Regions from separate parts of the Homo sapiens genome. Here regions 1, 3, 4 and 5 are each linked to region 2. The links are contacts of gene promoters, found by promoter capture Hi-C in human tissues and cell types (Jung and others, 2019). All regions are on one chromosome and are shown on one strand. The core of a region is centred on a gene start or on the middle of the fragment in contact, and the rest is flanking DNA. Distances in the headings are between cores, read along the strand shown. Region 1 has its middle 7.7 kb from the start of SEC14L5. Region 2 holds the start of ANKS3 (ankyrin repeat and sterile alpha motif domain containing 3). Region 3 overlaps HMOX2 (heme oxygenase 2). Region 4 overlaps HMOX2 (heme oxygenase 2). Region 5 overlaps CDIP1 (cell death inducing p53 target 1).

Region 1 (3,756 bases), core at 647-3,146, 220 kb before region 2:
GCACCCACACGCACTACGACTTGGATGAACCTGGAGGACATTATGCTGAACGGGCAAGAACTGAGTGATTCCACATCTGAGTCACCTAGAGGAGCCCAATCCACAGGGACAGAAAGAAGAACGGTGGCGGGGCTAGGGGCTGGGGGGAGGGGCATGGGGAGTTAATTAATGGACACAGAGTTTGGGTTTTAGAAGATGAAAAGAGTTCTGGGCCGGGCACAGTGGCTCGCGCCTGTAATCCCAGCACTTTGGGAGCCCGAGGCGGGCGGATCACGAGGTCAGGAGTTTGAGACCAGGCTGGCCAACATAGTGAAACCCCATTTCTACTAAAAATACAAAAATTAGCCGGCCATGGTGGCACGCACCTGTAATCCCAGATACTCGGGAGGCTGAGGCAGGAGAATCGCTTGAACCCAGGAGGCGGAGGTTATGGTGAGCCAAGATTGCACCACTGCACTCCAGCCTGGGCAACAGAGCGAGACTCTCAAAAAAAAAAAAAAAAAAAAAGGAGTTTTGGAGATGGATGGTGTGATGGTTACACAATAATGTGAATGCCACTGAACTGCACACTGAAAAATGATTAATTAAGATGGGCAATGTTTTATATATATCTTACTGCAATAAAAAAAATAACAGGAGCTGGTCTGAGTGCAGTGGTGTTTACAACTAATTGTCTCAACCCGTTGCAGATGTGTTTGTTTTGTTTTGTTTTGTTTTGTTTTCTCCACTCCCACTGCTTCACCTGATTAGCCTTGTTTTAAAAAATCACATTGAGGCCAGGCACAGTGGCTCACTCCTATAATCTCAGCACTTTGGTAGGCCAAGGTGGGCAGATCATCTGAGGTCAGGAGTTCGAGACCAGCCTGGACAACATGGTGAGACCCTGTCTCTACAAAAAAATACAAAAATTAACCAGGCGTGGTGGCAGGCCCCTATAATCCCAGCTACTCGGATGGCTGAGGTATGAGAATCGCTTGAACCTGGAGGCAGAGGTCGCAATGAGCCGAGATTGTGCCACTGCACTTCAGCTTGGGTGACAGAGTGAAACCCCGTCTCAAAAAAAAAAAAAAATCACATTGGAAACTTTTTTTTTAATGGGGTTAACCATAGTGTTATCCTGAAGGTTGGTGGAAATTGCGTGAGGAAAAGTAATTGCACAGGGACCACCAGAGGACCCGGGTACATGTTTGTAACTGTGCGGGCTTAGAAGGAGGGGCATTTCCCACGGGAATTTAGGGTGAAGGGGAGTGAGGACTTGACGTTGGACATTTGAGGGGGTGGCCAACACAGTATAGGAAGGTGATAACTCTGCCTTTTGGAGATACAGAATTCATTTATTTAAAGTATGCAATTCAGCTGGGTCTGATGGCTCACCTCTATCATCCCCGAACTTTGGGAGGCCGAGCCAGGAGGATTGCTTGAGGCCAGAAGTTCCAGGCTGCAGTGAGCAATGATCACACCACTGCACTCCAGCCTCAGCAGTACAGCAATACCCTTGGCTGGGCACAGGGGATCACACCTGTAATCTCAGCCCTTTGAGAGGCCAAGGAGAGAGGACCAGTTTAGCCCAGGAGTTCAAAACCAGCATGGGCAAAATAGTAAGGCTCCAGTCTCTACAAAAAATTTTAAGGCCGGGTGAGGTGGTTCACGCCTATAATCCCAGCACTTTGGAAGGCCGAGGCAGGCAGATCACAAGGTCAGGAGTTCAAGACCAGCCTGACCAACATAGTGAAACCCCATCTGTACTAAAAATACAAAAAAAATTAGCCGGGCATGGTGGCAGGCACCTGTACTCCCAGCTACTTGGGAGGCTAAGGCAGGAAAATTGCTTGAACCCGGGAGGCAGAGGTTGCAGTGAGCCGAGATCGTGCCACTGCACTCCAGCCTAGGCAACACAGCAAGACTCTGTCTCAAAAAAAAAAAAGTAAAAATAAAAAACAGGGGCCGGGCGTGGTGGCTCATGCCTGTAATCCCAACAGTTTGGGAGGCCGAAGTGGGCAGATCACCTGAGGTCGGGAGTTCAAGACCAGCCTGACCAACATGGAGAAACCCTGTCTCTACTAAAAATACAAAATTAGCCGGGCGTGGTGATGCATGCCTGTAATCCCAGCTACTCAGGAAGGCTGAGGCAGGAGAATCACTTGAACCTGGGAGGCGGAGGTTGCGGTAAGCTGAGATCGCGCCACTGCACTCCAACCTGGGCAACAAGAGCAAAGCTCCATCTCAAAAAAAAAAAAAAAAAAAAAAAAAAAAGGAGAGAGAGAGAGAAAGACCCTGTCAAAAAAAAAAATAAAAAAAAAAAGAGTGCCATCCAGCCGGTTTTGGTAGTTTCAGAGTTGCACAACCATCAGCATGGTCAATTTGAGAGCACTATCATCACCTGTGCCCCTTAGCAGTCACTCGCCACTCCCCTCTCCCCAGCAGCCACAGTCTCCTTTCCATCTCTACGAATTCACCTCTGAACATTTCACAGGCAGGATCGTATAATATGTGCCGTTGTGTATCTGGCTTTTCTTACTGAGCCTAATGTGCTCACGGTCAACCATGCTGAAGCGCATGTCAGGCCTTCACTCCCCTTTTTTTTTTTTTTTTTTTTTTGAGACACAGTCCCACTCTGTCACCCAGGCTGGAGTGCAGAATCGCGATCTCAGCTCACTGCAACCTCCGCCTCCCGGGTTCAAGCGATTCTCCTGCCTCAGCCTCCTGAGTAGCTGGGATTACAGGCGCCCACCACCACACCTGGCTTATTTTTTTGTATCCGTGAGTGGCTTCTGTTGTGGGTTAGATTGCACTGAGTGCCATGATTGGTGAGCAGGGAAAGAGGGTGGGAAGTGCAGGGCAGATTACAATGTAGGGACCAGGTGGGCTGCGCTGAGAAGGTGACTTGGCACAAAGGCTTGGAAGAAGAGCAGGGGGTCCACGTAGAGAGTGGGGCCAAGGGGGCAGCCGATGCAAAGGCCCTGAGGCAGGAGCATACTTGGCGTGTTTGAGTATTGGGGAGGCGGTCAGTGTATCGGGGGTAGAGTTAGTGGGAGGGAAGTGGCGGGGAAGAGAGCAGACTCTGAGGGGAGCCTGAGGGAGGGGGTCTCATGGGTTATCTGGCTCTGATGCTGAGGTACTCAGAGTGTCTGGGAGGTATGGGACAGGGGAGTCTGCTGACTTCACTTTAGCCCTCTGGTTGCTGTGTTGGGAATAGATTGTAGTTGACCACGGTGGAGGAGGGGGAAGGGTGCAGAGAGCACGGAGGAGGAGCCAGGAGGAGGGAGGCCACCAAAGTGACCTCAGGAATCTGGAGGTGAGGGGGTGAGACCCTAGATCTCTTGCCCAGGTAGATGCTGTAGGAATGGAAAGGGAGACCCAGGAGAACCAGGAAGGGGAAGCTGTTCCTAGAGAGCGCATCCGTGGAGCGGATGCAGACAGAGGAACCTGGGGAAAACGACCTCTTGTCATTGGAGCCGGACAGTCCCACCTGAAGGTCAGCTCAGGTCTTCAGGAGCTCTCAGTGTGTGATTCTGACCACCAAGCAGGGGTCAGAACAAGGGACTGGCCGCTGGGGAGGGGCCACAGGCACCAACACCCAAAGCTCAGCCCCATCAACACAGCGACTCCAGGGACCCCCCAGCTCAGTGCCTGAGGCCTCAGCTGCCACCCAGCCCCTCTAGGCTGCCCCTGCCAAGAAGAGGACCAGGGACCCGAGCTGTCCTCTTCTCCATGCCTGGGCCCAGGTGGACCCTGCGACAGCCACCAGATGCACGC
Region 2 (3,649 bases), core at 335-2,834:
CCTCCTGAATAACTGGGACTACAGGTGTGTACCACCACATCTGGCTAACATTTTTATTTTTTGTAGAGATGGAGTCTCCCTGTTGCCCAGGCTGGTCTCAAACTCCTGGCCTCAAGTGATCCTCTTGCCTCAGCCTCCCAAAGTGCTGGGATTACAGGCATGTGCCATCGCGCCTGGCTGACAGTTTGGAGTCACTAAGTGATTTTTTTTTTTTTTTGGAGTCACTACTCTGACCAGCCCCTGCATTTATATCTTAGAGTCTTAAAGGAGATGGTCCTGTTATTCAGGGGGCTGGGGAGCTTGAGCTTGAGAGCTGGGGGGTGAGGGTCCTCTAGAGCCAGTGTCAGGAGAACTCTGCAGCTCGAGAGGCCGCTGTGGCTTTGGCCCTGCAGTCAGTGCCCGTTCATCCCCAATCAGGGCAGCGGCAGGAGATGTGAATTGGGGGCTGCTTGCTTCCTCTGTACTTCTGGGAATAGGGCAGGTGCTTGGTGCACTCTGAACTGGGAGCAGCGGGTTGGGGACGCATCTGGTGCACACAGCCAGCGGGTGTTTTTTGTAACTAGAGCTCTGTTCCGCAATTCAGGGCACAGTATTTCTTAGGGCAACAGAATCGTCGGGATGAAGAGGGCCTCCAGAGACTCTGATAAACCCTTCAGGCGGACAAGACAATAGGGGAGGGAACGGCATTACCGGCAGAAGGAAGAGCATGTACAGTAGCTCAAAGGAATGAACCGCCCAACAGGTTTAAGGGAAGAAAGTGTCAGTTGCTGGACTCTCCGGTGAAAACGGACCAGACAATGCAGGGCCCTGAACGCCAAGTTGAGGAGCTCAGAGCATCCAGAAGGCGAAGGGGAGGCTCGGAGCCGCCTCTGAATAACGGCCTTCCGGCTCCGTCTCGGGGTGGGTTTCTCAGCTGCAGCCTGTTAGCCCCGCCACAGCCCCGCCCCGGTTCTCAGAGCCCCGCCCCCAGCCGGCCTGCCACGAGGCTGCCGGTTGTTATGGCAACCAGACGCCAACAGCCTCCCGGGTCGAGCTTTTAAATTTTAAAGCTGTGGAAGTGGAAAGCCCATCGCTCCTCCTCTCACCCACCCCCAGCCCGTATTTCCCCGCGTTTTGTTCAACTCCCTGCAGGCGCAGCAGGCCCGAGGCCCCTCACCTCAGGCCTCTGCCTCCACTCCCCGCGCTGTCCTGACAGCGCTATAAACAGCCTCCAGCGCGTCACTCCGCTCGCGTCCGCCCCTCGGGCCGCGCCGCAGGTACAGAGGCTGTCCCCTTCTTCAGCACTCTCCCTCTCAGCGGAGCTTTACATTACTAGACTGCCTCCGCCTTCCCCCCACCCCGCCCAGCTCCTCTTTCGGGCCTTTGCGCGTCCTGCCTCTCCTGCAATGGGATTGGTTCCCCTGGAGGGCGGGGACGGAGCAGGACAAACACCACTAGCTCATTGGCTACCGCGGGCATCAGACAGCGAGCCGGGAAGCTGACCGGAAGGTCCGGGTGCGGGACGTGTGCATTCCACGGCGCCCGGGAGCTGTCCCGGTGCCGACCCGCGAGCTTCCCGGCGTGCTCCGCGCCCTCCCGCAACTACTTCCGGGGCGGGTGCCGGGGGCGGTGCCCCGGCGAGGGAGCGTGGCGGCGAGCTGTTTGGGGGGGGTTGGCGACGGCAGCCCGAGGGCGGCGCAAGGCCTGAGGCCCAGCACAGGTGGGTTCCGCGGCGGCCCGGCCCCAGCACTTGCCGGCACCTGCAGCCCGCCTAGACCCGGCGCTCGGGCGTCCCGCGCTGCACTTGCTCGCCGCGTGACTGGAGGACCGAGCCCCCACATTTTCTTTATGTGGTTGTGGTGGGGGCACAGTAATGCCCTGTGCGCCGTAGCGTTCCTGTGGGGATGTGGCCGGGGGGCGTCGGGAAGCGTCACTGCTGTGAGTTACGGGTTTGTCGGCCAGGGACCCGCCCCGGGGCCAGTGAGCTACCTTTGCGATGCGGTTCCACGGGGCGAGAGGGGGTGCCTGGGTGCTTTCACAGACCTCCTCTGTGGGCGTGACAGTTACCACCAGCATCACATTTGTTAAGATTTTTAAAAATTTTTTAATTTTTGTGGGTACGTAGTAGGTGTATATATTTATGGCGTATATGAGAGATTTTGATACAGGCATGCAGTTCGTAATAATCACATGTAAAATGGGGGTCTCCATCCCTTCAAGCATTTATCCTTTGTGTTACAAACAATATGATTATACTCTTTGAATTATTTTTAAATGTGCAGCCGGGCGCGGTGGCTCACTCACGCCTGTAATCCTAGCACTTTGGGAGGCAAAGGCGGGCGGATCACCTGAAGTCAAGGATTTGAGACCAGCCTGGCCAACATGGGGACACTTCGTCTCTACTAAACATACGAAAACTAGGCTGGCATGGTGGCTCATACCTGTAATCTCAGCTACTCGGGAAGCTGAGGCAGGAGAATCGCTTGAACCCAGGAGGCGGAGGTTGCATTGAGCCGAGATCACGCCGCTGCACTCTAGCCTGGGTAACAGAGTGAGATTATGTCTCAAAAAAAATAATAATAAATAAATAAAATGTGCAATTAGATTATATTGACTATAGTCACCCTGTTGTGCGGTCAAATACTAGATCTTTTTTTTTTTTTTTTTTTTTTTGAGACGGAGTCTCGCTTTGTCGCCCAGGCTGGAGTGCAGTGGCTTGATCAAATACTAGATCTTATTCATTCTGTTTTTTTTGTATCCATTAAGCATCCCCACCCTCCACTACCCTTCCCAGCCTTGGTTACACTAGAAGTAACCATCCTTCTACTTTCTATGTCCATGAGTTCAGTTGTTTTGATTTTTAGATAACCACAAATAATTGAGAACATGCAATATTTATCTTTCTGTGCCTGGCTTATTTCACTAAACATAACGATCTCCGCTTCCATCCATGTTTTTGCAAATGATAGGATCTCATTCTTTTTTTATGGCTGAATAGTACTCCATTGTGTCTAAGTACCACATTTTCTTTAGGATTCACTGTAAAGGTAACAGATACTTAGCATTTTCAGAATGGACAGAACCAAAAAGTTGAATGAAAACTAAAACGTCTTATCTCTAATGCTACTTTACACCACACCACTCGGGATGGGACATTTTAGTTTTCACTTTAGTGTTTTTTTTTTGTTTTTTTTTTTGAGACAGAATTTCGCTCTGTTGCCCAGGCTGGAGTGCAGTGGCTTGAGCTCGGCTCACTGCAATCGCCTCCCAGGCTCAAGCGATTCTCTTGCCTCAGCCTCCTGAGTACTGAGACTACAGGCGCCCACCACCACACCCAGCTAATTTTTGTAATTTTAGTAAAGATGGGAGTTCACCATTTTGGCCAGGGTGGTCTCGAACTCCTGGCCTCAAGTGGTCCGTCACGCTTGGTCTGGTTCTCATTGTCCTTCAGACCTCTGGGGATGTCAGATATGCAAGTCTCCAGTAAATAGAGAACACGGCCTCACCCTGCAGGAGGCCTTTGGCGTGGAAGAGACATGCCCAGTGAAGGCTTGAGGGAGGTATGGAAGGGACTCTGAACTGACCCTCAGCTCGTTTGGTTTCTTATCCAGGCTTCGTTGGCCAGGGCTGTTAGGGTGGGATTCTCACCTGCAAAGTGAGGGAAGGGCAC
Region 3 (4,024 bases), core at 606-3,105, 230 kb after region 2:
AGGCAAAGACAAGTGCCATCCATGGCCCAGGTTACCAACTGCAGTAACTTCAGCGTGCTTCTTGCCATTTGCACCTACTTATCATGCTGCACAACAGTGATAGGGAACGTGATTAAATCTCATTAACTGTGTTTTACTCAATAATAACTGCATGCTCTGGGAGAGTATAGTCTTGCTTAATTAAACAACAAGTCCTTGTGCTTCTCCGAAAAATACAAAAAGGAGCCAGGCACAGTGGTTCGCACCTATAATCCCAGCATTTAGGGAGGCCGAGGTGGGCAGATCACCTGAGGTCAGCAGTTCGAGACCAGCCTGGCCAACATGGTGAAAGCCCATCTCTACTAGAAATACAAAAATGAGCCAGGCATGGTGGTGGGCAATTTTTTGTAATCTGCTGTCCACGACTTCAAATTTTCTACACTCAAAATAGGTTCTACCGATTTTACTTTGAAGGAAAGCTAACAGGAAGAATACTGAGTTCTCAAGGCGGGCTGAAAGTACCAACTACCATCTGTACAGACCTGGGGGCTGGGGGCAGAGGAGGCTCCTGGGAAGGCTCGGTTAGCATATTCAACCCACAGACTGGGGCCAGGGGAGGCGACCCTGTGGCCTAGCCACTGTCCAAGGGAGTGGCCACACAGTGTGGCATTCAGAGGCCACCTTGCAACTGCAGAAACATAATTTTTTTTCACTTTCTGAAAAGCTACATGTCCAGACTTAGTCTGGCTGGTTTCTATACTTGAATGCTCTTTTCTTTGCAGGAACCATTGGAATCTCTAGAAAATTGAGGGCCAAATCATAAATATAGAACCTTTTTAGACTTCAATGTCTAATATCCACAAGAAGCTACATGTTCCCCACCCCCACAAAAGAGAAAAAAAGATCCTAAAATATTCCACTCTGGGAAATACACTTCAAGAAATAGTAATAGTAATTGTAATCTGTATCAAAATAATACCCAGCCATACTATGATGTTAGGAAAAAAACAACACACAGCCTAAGAACAAAGGGCATGACTGCTCAAACAACAGTCAACAATGGAATCCTGGCACAGCCGGGGCAAGTTGATAAGCTGTGTTCATGCATGGAAAAGCCTACAGAAACTTTTTATTTTTTTAAAAAGGATCCCAAACACCGACTATAACTGTGTGCAAAAGTATACTGATAATGACAAGTGGGAAATTTGGAGAGCTATAAATACTTGTTTTTTGTTGGACTTTTTAGCCAACTGGCTGCTTCTTTTATATGGAGTGACTCAATTCTCTTGGAAAGAAAAAGGGAAGAGGGAGGGGAAGGCAGCGAAGGGAAGGGAAAAAAGAAACCGAGAGACAGGAATTGGACCAAGCAAACCAGCTAAGATCCCGCACTGCATTAACTAACTAGTCAATGGAAGCTCCTGGGTCCTCTTTTCTGTTACAAATTCTAGAAAGGCCAGTCTACCCTCTCTCTTTCCCATTTCCAAAAAACTGGGACCCTCTGTTTATAAAATCTACCTCCACTACTCCATAATTCCAGTACTCCTAGCTGTTCACCTCATCAGCTGCTGATTCTCATTCCAACACCTGAGCTAACAGAAGCAGTAACAAAGTTCCTATCACAGTTACTTCAAGCAAAAGAGGTTCCTTTAGACCAGCTCAGCAGATCCAGAACACTGTCTCAAAGCTTTTGCTCCTGCTAAATTGCTGGCATGAGGCACTACCAGGACTTCTGAGACAACGAAGATGGTAAATCCTCCTCCATGGAGACTAAGTCCAACAAATTTCAGGTCAGGTAACTCAGTGCATTGCTACCAGGTGGGAATATAATCTAAGGACTATATTATAATTCATTTCCCATCTGGTCATACAGAAAGGAACAATAAAGACTTCTTTGCCCTGGAGAAACCTGAACTGAAGGAAGAGAGCAGGTTGCTGAGCTCAGCCAGCACCGAGAGTAAGCAACAGCAGACTGACTCACTCCCTGGAATGAGAACAATTCTGCAGGCTTCTGACTCAATGAAATAGTGACACTTGACAGTGACCAGCTACTACACTGCATGAGATGCCCACAACATGAACTCGGGTTGTTACCCCACAAACACAGGGAGGCTAAGTGGCTGCTCAGAGACTTCTGCACTGGGACTCCACGAGTGCTCCCTCCCTGCTGAACACCTTGCAGTTGGGCATCAGGATTCTTACCATCACCCTGGATGGGGGTCCCCTGCCTGCTTCCTAGAAGGCTGTTTGCAGCTCAGAGCTCACTCCGATATAAAATTGCCACCATATTAATATGAGGTGATTACGCTTCAGCTTCCACAACTGACTGTCATCCTGTCTTCCCAGTTAAACCAAAAGCTTCCTACAAGAGAGATCCAGATTCCCTCAGATTCAGATCAGGGTCCAATATGACTTATAGGCCAGCACCCTGGGGAGCATCCAACCTGAGTTACAGCTGTTGCAAATACACAGATGGAGTTCCTACTGAGAAAGCCAGTTAAATAGAGGATTTGTGTGCCTGTGCCTGTGTGTGTAACAAGAAAATAACAGCTAAATTCTAAAATACCAAGTAAAGTAATACAAATTTTTAATTGGGTCCCATGTCTCTAAATTAACTGTATGAAATCTGTTTTGACTTCTCTTCAGATCTGACTTGACTCCTAAGTTTTTAACTGACAATTATATTTATGGGGTACAGTGTGATGTTTGGACACATGTATACATTGGGGAATAATTAAATCAGGGTTATTAACATATCCATCAGCTCACATGCTTATCATTTCTTTGTGGTGACAACTTTTAAAATCCACTCTTTTACCAATTTTGAAGTATACAATACTATTATAATATTAACCATATTAACTATAGTCACCATGCTGTAAGGCAGATCATCAGACCTTATTTCTCCTAACTGAAATTTTGTACCCTTTGATCAACATCTCCCCTTTCCACACCCACCCTTCCCTTCCCCCAGCCGCTGGTAACCAACATGTTACACTCTCCTTCTATAACTGACTTTTTCAGATTTCACATATAAGTGATATCATGCACCATTTGTCTTTCTTTCTTTGGCTTACTTCACTTAGCATAATGTCCTCTAGATGCATCCATGTAGTCACAAATGACAGAATTTCCTTCTTGTTTATGGTTGAGTAGTATTCCATCGTGCATAAATACCAGCTTTTAAAAATCCATTAATCCACTGTGTGCTGCGAAGACTAAGTGGGCTAACACGCATGAATGTTTGACAAAATGCAGCACCACCTCAAATATTGAGCTCTTACTGAGGAAGTCGCTGGTGAGAATGAGCAATTGGGTGATTGTTAAACACTGAGGAAGAACAAGAAATCCAGCAATTTCAGATAGTTCTGGGCAGGTCACACCTGAGGACTTCTGACTCAGACCTCATTCTCCAGCAGCGTCAGGAAATAGGAATATCTGCCCTTTCTAAGGTGAGCCACGTGAGCACTGGAGGCTAGAATACCCACATTGCAGATGCCACTGGAGATTGGCTGAGCCACATGTTTGGGGCAGCAGACAGAGCTCAATCAGTTCTAATCCAACAAGGCACGAGATAACAGAGACTTCTCAACACCCTGAAGAAGCCACATCATCTAGAACTACAGCTTCTGAGTTTATAGAATAAATGGCCTGAGGTCTCCTCTGAACTCTGGTACTACCATTCCTCAGGAAATGTTATACATAAGCCCTTTCATTTCAATCGCTGGGGGAATTCAATCCCACGGTTCACTGAACGGAAGAATAAATATTAACCTCTTGATAAAAGAGCAAATCCAGGCTGGGTGCAGTGGCTCACACCTATAATCCTGACACTTTGGGAGGCCAAGGTGGGAGGATCACCTAAGCCTAGGAGCTCAAGACTAGCCTGGGCAACACAGTCAGACCTTGTCTCTACGAAAAATAAAATAATTAGCCAGGCGTGGTGACACACACCTGTAGTCCCAACCACTCGGGAAACTGGGGCAAGAGGATCTTTTGACCCCAGGAGTTCAAGGATGCAGTGAACTATGATCACACCGTTGCACTC
Region 4 (3,746 bases), core at 998-3,497, 250 kb after region 2:
ACCTGGGAGGCAGAGGTAGGAGAATTGTTTGAACCCGGGAGGCAGAGGTTGCAGTGAGCCGAGATCAAGCCATTGCACTCAAGCCTGGGGGACAAGAGCGAGACTTCTCTCAAAAACAAAAACAAAAATAAAAACAAAAACAAAAACAAAAAAATCAATCCCTGTTCTAAAAGGAGTCTATCAGTGACATTCTCTTTTTATGGGTAAAGTTTTCAGTAAGACCCTGAGTGCTCTAAGAAGGGTTTCTTCTTTCTTTGGCCTCCTTCCTTCTCTTCCCTTCCTCCTCTGTCCTAATGGGTTCAGTACAAGTTCTCCCATTTTCTCCATTTCTCCACTCTTTAACTTCCCTGGCCTCTCAAAACTCTCATAAACCTTACAAAGTGATTTTACTGTTTTGTGTCTTCCCACAGTTACTACCAGCTCCTAGTAAACAAAGACTATGCTTGGTTTGTTGTTGTATTTGCACATCCCCTCAGTGCCAATACTCTGCATACCTTAGAAGCTCAATACAGTACAGTCAGCCCTCCATATCCATGGGCTCTGCATCAGTGGATTCAACCAACCTCAGATTAAAAATATTCAGAAAAAGGCCTGACATGGTGGCTCACCCCTGTAATCATAGCACTTTGGGACGTGGAGGTGGGTGAATCACTTAAGGTCAGGAGTTCGAGATCAGCCTGGCCAACATGGTGAAACCCGGAATCTGCTAAAAATATAAAAATTAGCCGGGGGTTGTGGCAGGCACCTGTAATCCCAGCTACTCGGGAGGCTAAGGCAAGAGAATCGCTTGAACCCAGGAGGTGGAGGTTGCAGTGAGCCAAGACTGCGCCACTGCACTCCAGCCTCGGTGACAGAGTGAGATGCCGTCTCAATCAACCAATCAATCTTCAGGGAAAAAAAAAACAACAGATGGCTACATATGTACTACACATGTACAGATTTTTTTTCTTGTCATGATTACCTAAACGATACAGTATAACAACTATTTACATAGCACTGTATTGGGTATTATAAATACAGATGATTTAAAGAATACAGAAGATATGCATAGGTTATATGCAAATTCTATACACCATTTTATATAAGAAACTTAAGCTGGGCACAGTGGCTCATGCCTGTAATACCAGCACTTTGGGAGCCCGCGGCAGGCGGCTCACCTGAAGTCAGGAGTTCGAGACCAGCCTGGCCAATATGGTGAAACCTCACCTCTACTAAAAATACAAAAATCAGCCAGGCGTGGTGGTGCACACCTGTAATCCCAGCTACTCGGGAGGCTGAGGCAGGAGAATCATTTGAACCCGGGAGGTGGAGATTGCAGTGAGCCGAAATCGTACCACTGCACTCCAGCCTGGGTGACAGTGCAAGACTCCGTCTCAAAAAAAAAAAAAAAAAAGAAAAGAAAAGAAACTTGAGCATCCTGGATCTTGGTACCCTTGAGGGGTCCTGGAACTAATCTCCACAGATACTGAGGGATAACTATATATACTTCTCAAATGGCCTCATACTACTGTTTCTTGATCCTTCTACCTTTAGGCATTTGGACTTGAATGTGGTGCCTCCTTTAAAATTTGGGCATATGAGGCCGGGTGCAGTGGCTCACGCCTGTAATCCCAGCACTTTGGGAGGCCAAGGTGGGTGGATCATGAGGTCAGGAGATTGAGACCATCTTGGCTAACACGGTGAAACCCCGTCTCTACTAAAAATACAAAAAATTAGCCGGGCATGGTGGCGGGAGCCTGTAGTCCCAGCTACTCGGGAGGCTGAGGCAGGAGAATGGCGTGAACCTGGGAGGCGGAGCCTGCAGTGAGCCGAGATCGCACCACTGCACTCCAGCCTGGGCGACAGAGCAAGACTCCGTCTCAAAAAAAAAAAAAAAAAAATTTTTGGGCATATGCACGGGTGTGATACTGTAATTTAGAAGAAGATACAGAGATAAATTTGAGGCTGGATGCAGCGGCTCATGCCTGTAATCCCAGCACTTCAGGAGGCTGAGGTGGGCAGATCACTTGAGGTCAGGAGTTCAAGACCAGCCTGGTTAATATGGTGAAACCCCGTCTCTACTAAAAATACAAAAATTAACCAGGTATAGTGGCGCACACCTGTAGTCCCACCTACTCGGGAGGCTGAGGCAGGAGAATCGCTTGAATCCGGGAAGCGGAGGTTGCAGTGAGCCGAGATAGCGCCATTGCACTCCAGCCTGGGTGTCGCAGCAAGACTCTGTCTCAAAACACAAACAAACAAAAAGATTTATAGATATATTTGATCTGCACCCTAGGTTCCTGGCACAGAGCTCCTAAAACCTTTGTAGATGGGGGCACTAGGAGAATCCTTCATTCTGATATTGGTCTTTAACCTCAGTTCCTGACACAGAGCTCCTAAAACTTTTGTAATTTCCTAAATCCCTTGGAATTTCCTGGGTAATAGGAGCATCTTTTGTTGTAAGTAAGTAACTCTTGGTGGGCTCCTAGATGGGGGCTGATTGCCTGGGGAACCAACCATGTGATTAGAGGGTGGGAACTTTCAGCCCTACCCCCTTAACCTCAGGGGACGGGAGAAGGTCTAAAGGTTGAGTTGATCACCAGTGGCCAATAACGTATTCAATTATGCCTTTGTAATGAAGCCTCCATAAACACACACACACACACACACACACACACACACACACACACACACACACACACACACACACACACCAGGGTTTGCATTAGCTTCAGGATAGCTGAATACACGAAAGTTCCAGAGAGGGCGTAGAAGCTTCATGCCTCTTCCTACATGCCTCACCCTATACATCTCTTCCATCTGGCTATTCATCTGTATCCTTTTTTTTTCTTCCAGTCTGTCGCCCAGGCTGGATGGAGTGCGGTGGCGTGATCTCATTTCACTGCAACATCTGCCCCCAGGGTCCAAGCGATTTTCCTGCCTCAGCCTCCCTAGTGGCTGGGACTACAGGCATGCACGACCACACCCGGCTAATTTTTTTGTATTTTTACTAGAAATGGGGTTTCACCACATTGGTCAGGCTGGTCTCAAACTCCTGACCTCAGGTGATCTGCCCTCCTTGGCCTCCCAAAGTGCTGGGATTACAGGCATGAACCAGCACGCCCAGCCATCTGTATCCTTCTTAATATCCTTTAGAGTAAATTGGTAAATGTAAGTAAAGTGTTTTCCTGAGTTCTGTGACCCACTCTAGCAGATTAATCAAACTCGAGGAGGGATTGTCAGAACTTTCGATTTATAGCTAGTAGGTCAGAAGTATAGGTGACAATTTACTACTTGTGACTAGTGCCTCAAGTTGGGACAGTTTTGTGGGACTGAGCCCTCAATTGGTGGGATCTGACGCTATCTCCAGATAGAGTATCAGAATTTAACTGACTTAGAGGACACCGCACCGGTGTGTCTACTAGAGAATTGCTTGGTGTATGGGGAAACAACTCCCATATATCTGGTATCAGAAGTGTTGTGTTGAGTGACTGTGGGAACAGAGTAGAAAAAAGACTTTGGGTTTTTTTGCCTTTCTCAAATAACCAGAAGAGCCACAAGCAAAGACAGAAAAGCATAACCTACAGCAGCTAGTTTCTCAGAACAGCATATTTTTCCCCTTCTGGGTCCACTTGCCTTTTTATAAACACAAAAAGTCTTACAGAGCAGGACAAATATGACACTGAACACAGACATTTGAAAATTTTGCTGAGATTGACAAATTCTCAAGTATATGGTAGAGGAATGGAGTTTTTTAAGTTATTTTC
Region 5 (3,660 bases), core at 560-3,059, 220 kb after region 2:
AAGTGTGGGCCGAACTAGCTGCCTTTTTCATGGACTCCATCTTCACTTAAAGAACAACTGGCACACACCGTGGTTATTCAGATTTGGATATTTAGCATACACTTTCTTGAAAATGAGCAAAGTGAACTTGCTACTTCAAGGGAAACAACTGACCTTTTATTTTTGTATATGTTGCTGTTTCTATATTTGTTAGTGCTTTGTTGCCAGTGATGAAATTCAAGCTTTCAAATGATGATTAGCGTTAACAATATTTAGTGACTTTAATGACATTGGTAGTGATACCAGCAATGTGATTTAAAAAAATATATATTGTTCAATGAGATGTGTCAACATTGGTAGATCTGCATTACAGGAACCCGTATTTTCAGGTGACCCACACATGATGTTAAGAAATCATGTCTATGTAAAAGACCCATTCCAAATGCAAGGTACACCAATGACTTCTAATGTAACACATTAGAAAAAAACCATTGTTAAGGCTTCCAATTCCTGTGGCAACTAACCCTTAAGAAACTACCACTTGTCGGTCAAGTGCGGTGGCTCACACCTGTAATCCCAGCACTTTGGGAGGCCGAGGCGGGCAGATGACGAGGTCAAGAGATTGAGACCATCCTGGTCAACATGGTGAAACCCCATCTCTACTAAAAATACAAAAATTAGATGGGTGGCATGCCTGTAGTCCCAGCTCCTCAGGAGGCTGAGGCAGGAGAATCGCTTGAACCCGGGAGGCGGAGGCTGCAGTGAGCCAAGATTGCGCCACTGCACTCCAGCCTGGTGATAGAGCGAGACTCTGTCTAAAAAAAAAAAAAACCTACCACTTGTCAAGTCTTGATGTAGTATTAGTCCATTGTGCTTCTCTAACAGAATACCTGAGACTGGGTCATTCATAAAGAAGAGGAATTTATCTCCTTACAGTTCTGGAGGCTGGTGTCTTAGTCTATTTGTGTTGCTATAAATTACCTGAGGCTGAGTAATTTATAAAGAAAAGAGAGTATTTGGTTCCTGGTTCTGCAGGCTTTATAGGATGGCACGGTGCCAACATCTGCTTCTGTTGAGGGCCTCAGGCTGCTTCCATTCATGGTGGAAGGCACGGGGGGTCTCTGTGCAGAGATCACATGGCGAGAGAGGGGGTGAGAAGGGGAGGGGAAGCGCTGGGCTCTTTCTGACAACCAGCAAGGATGCGGGGACTAACAGAGTGAGAAGTCACTCGCTTCTCCTCCACCCCAGGGAGGGCATTTATCTATTCATGAGGAATCCACCTCCCATGTCCCAAACAACTCCCATTAAGCCTCACCATCAGTCATCAAAACTGTGGTGCTTGGGAAGTCCAGGATCAAGGCACTGCCAGCATCTGGCAAGGGCCTTCTTGCTGTGTCATCCCATGGTGGAAGGGCCGCGGGGAGAGGCACCCACAAAAGACTAGCTAATCCTCTTACAAGGAATCCGCTCCCAAGATAGTGATTTGTAGCCAGTCTGTCAGAAGCGCAGGTCGCAAGCTAGGAATTGCGATGATCAGAAGTGGGGGGCAGTCATGGAACTGAGCCCTCAACCTGTGGGATCTGACACGGTAGCATCAGACTTGAATGCCACTAGAAGACGTCCACCTGGTGTCCGCTGCAGAACTGACTGCTTGCTTGTTATTGGGGAGAAACCCCCACATGTTTTGCCACAGAAGTCTTTTCTGTTGATTGTTATGGTGTGAAAGCAGAGGAGAAACAGGTTTTTTCTCCACACCTTCACATGCCACAGAACCCAGAGGGTGTGGAGGGGTAGACTTTGCAGAGGCCTCTGGTCTTCCATAGGAGTGACTTACTATTAAGTTTGTGATTGACTTGTAAAGATTTTCAAACAGGCACCTATTTTGTTTGCAATTAATAAATCCAAGATTTAAAGCAAGAAGGCCAAGAAGCCTCTCTTGGATTTGTCAGGGCTGCAAGTTGACTTCAGTGGGCTCCCCAGACCCCGCAAGTCTCCCCTTCCTCCTCTGTTGGGAACTGGGCAGATCCCCAGGTCTCCTAGCCCCCTCCCTCACCAGCACCTTCCCACAGCAGAGGTGCTGGGGCTGCATTTTCAGATCAGACATTTTCCATTTTGTAGCTTAATTTGAACAGTACTCGTTTTATTGGAAAACTATTTTGCTTCTGATCGTGTGATTGAAAGATTATTCTTGTAGTTTTTATTACACCCTACACAACATGGTTTTGTGGGAATGCATGTTTGATTTTGTATTGGAAGGCACTGGGAGAATGGGTGTTTGAATTCGGGAAATCTTCATGAGCTGTTTTCCAGATCCTCTCCTTGGTAGAGAAGGACCTGCCCTGCAGTCTCTGCTGGGGTTCAGGAAGGCAGCAGGAGGACGCATGTGGATATGGAGGGGTGAGGGGGAGCAGTGAGTAGCAGGCATGGCCCTAGGTGGGGAAGACACGGAGGAGCAACAGGGCCCTGCGGCCCCCGGTGAGGGGCAAAGAGAAGGTGGGCTCTGGTGTGGCCATCGAGCTGGAGGGGAAGCCAGCCCTGTGCAGGTCCAGACCCTTCCCTGTGGCCTGCATTTTCTGTACCCAGGTTGGGTGAACACCAAAGGAGGGCTATGCCCTGTGGGCTTACACCCTATCATCATGGGCAAGGCTGTATGTGGAATTCCAGAAATAGAATTTTTGAGCTCTAGGAGATCATAGGATTATATCTGTTGACTTTGATGAAAAGATGGGCCAGAGAAAGGCAACACCTGCATTCTCAGAGATGGGGTGTGTGTGCACACGTGTGTGTGTGTGTGCTCCCTGCAAGGGACCCAGGCTGGGATCTGCAGGTGCTTCAGTGACTCACCAAGCACAGTGCAGCTTATTTTCCTGGTCTGCTCAGAGCATCCCAGGGCCTGGACCATTCCCCGATGAGCAAGACCACTGCAGACCACAGTGTTGGGCCACTTGGTGGACGGTGGTGCCACCCAGAGGCGCCAGAGAGCATTTTCTGGGAGTCTGGGAGTTTGTAGCAGGGGCTGGCACTTATTCCAACTCAACGTATTGGAGCAGTTTTCCAGACGCAGGTAAAGCCCCATGAAAGGCTGCCCTCTTCTCCCCTGCAGGAGGGCACCTGGCAGGCTAGGAGCAGCCTGGGCAAGGGACCCCAGGACCAGCCCCAAGAGGCACTGCTGCTACTCCCTGTTCTGTTTTTTTTTTTTTTGTTTTTTGAGACAGGGTCTCGCACTGTTGCCCAGGCTAGAGTGCAGTGGCCTGATCATGGCTCACTGTATCCTCTGAGTCTTGGGCTCAGGTGATCCTCCTGCCTCAGCCTCCCCAGTAGCTGGGACTACAGGCATACATTATCATGCCTAATTTAAAAATTTTTCTTTTGTAGAGACAAGAGTCTTGCCATGTTGACCATGCTGGTTTCGAACCCCTGGCCTCAGTTCATCTGCCAGCTTCAGTCTCCCAAAGTGCTGAGATTAGATTACAGGAATAAGTCCCTGCACCTGGCCACTGCTCCCTTTTCTTAACCCTGTGCCATTGGAATTCACTGTGCAGGCAGGAGGGTGGGAGAGTCATGCTGGGGTCCTAGACTTATGCCCCGCCCCATCCTTTTCTAGGCCTCCATGTCTTCTGTGGATAATAAGGCAACTCAGAAGAGGTGTAATTTCTGAACACTTGGAAAGATGTTCTGTCT

Evidence for each region. The method cuts DNA at HindIII sites, captures the fragments that hold promoters and counts their contacts. A contact is called where the count stands out against the background at its distance.
Region 1: a fragment that was not itself captured here is called in contact with the fragment with the promoter of ANKS3 in region 2 in 1 of the 25 tissues and cell types used here (dorsolateral prefrontal cortex).
Region 3: a contact is called between a fragment that was not itself captured here and the fragment with the promoter of ANKS3 in region 2, in 1 of the 25 tissues and cell types used here (dorsolateral prefrontal cortex).
Region 4: a fragment that was not itself captured here is called in contact with the fragment with the promoter of ANKS3 in region 2 in 1 of the 25 tissues and cell types used here (aorta).
Region 5: a fragment that was not itself captured here is called in contact with the fragment with the promoter of ANKS3 in region 2 in 1 of the 25 tissues and cell types used here (dorsolateral prefrontal cortex).

Annotation. Positions count from the first base shown.
Region 1 is chr16:4,948,773-4,952,528 of GRCh38, reverse strand. No RefSeq gene overlaps it. Among named protein-coding and RNA genes, the nearest start is that of SEC14L5, 7.7 kb to the left of the region's middle. The HindIII fragment of the contact is 7,417 bases long and covers 1-3,756 here.
Region 2 is chr16:4,732,206-4,735,854 of GRCh38, reverse strand. ANKS3 (ankyrin repeat and sterile alpha motif domain containing 3) reads left to right here and starts at 1,584. Exons shown (of 18, transcript NM_133450.4): 1 at 1,584-1,917. It overlaps DNAAF8 (dynein axonemal assembly factor 8), which reads right to left and starts at 1,318. Exons shown (of 10, transcript NM_139170.3): 1 at 1,157-1,318. RefSeq lists silencers at 1,459-1,688, 1,739-1,798. The HindIII fragment of the contact is 29,621 bases long and covers 1-3,649 here.
Region 3 is chr16:4,498,424-4,502,447 of GRCh38, reverse strand. All of the region lies in intron 1 of HMOX2 (heme oxygenase 2), which reads right to left. Among named protein-coding and RNA genes, the nearest start is that of HMOX2, 24 kb to the right of the region's middle. RefSeq lists a silencer at 1,846-2,140. The HindIII fragment of the contact is 3,900 bases long and covers 1-3,805 here.
Region 4 is chr16:4,482,108-4,485,853 of GRCh38, reverse strand. All of the region lies in intron 1 of HMOX2 (heme oxygenase 2), which reads right to left. All of the region lies in intron 1 of LOC124903636 (a long non-coding RNA gene), which reads left to right. Among named protein-coding and RNA genes, the nearest start is that of HMOX2, 7.6 kb to the right of the region's middle. The HindIII fragment of the contact is 6,121 bases long and covers 1-3,746 here.
Region 5 is chr16:4,517,268-4,520,927 of GRCh38, reverse strand. The region is part of intron 1 of CDIP1 (cell death inducing p53 target 1); the gene reads left to right. Among named protein-coding and RNA genes, the nearest start is that of CDIP1, 20 kb to the left of the region's middle. The HindIII fragment of the contact is 6,021 bases long and covers 1-3,660 here.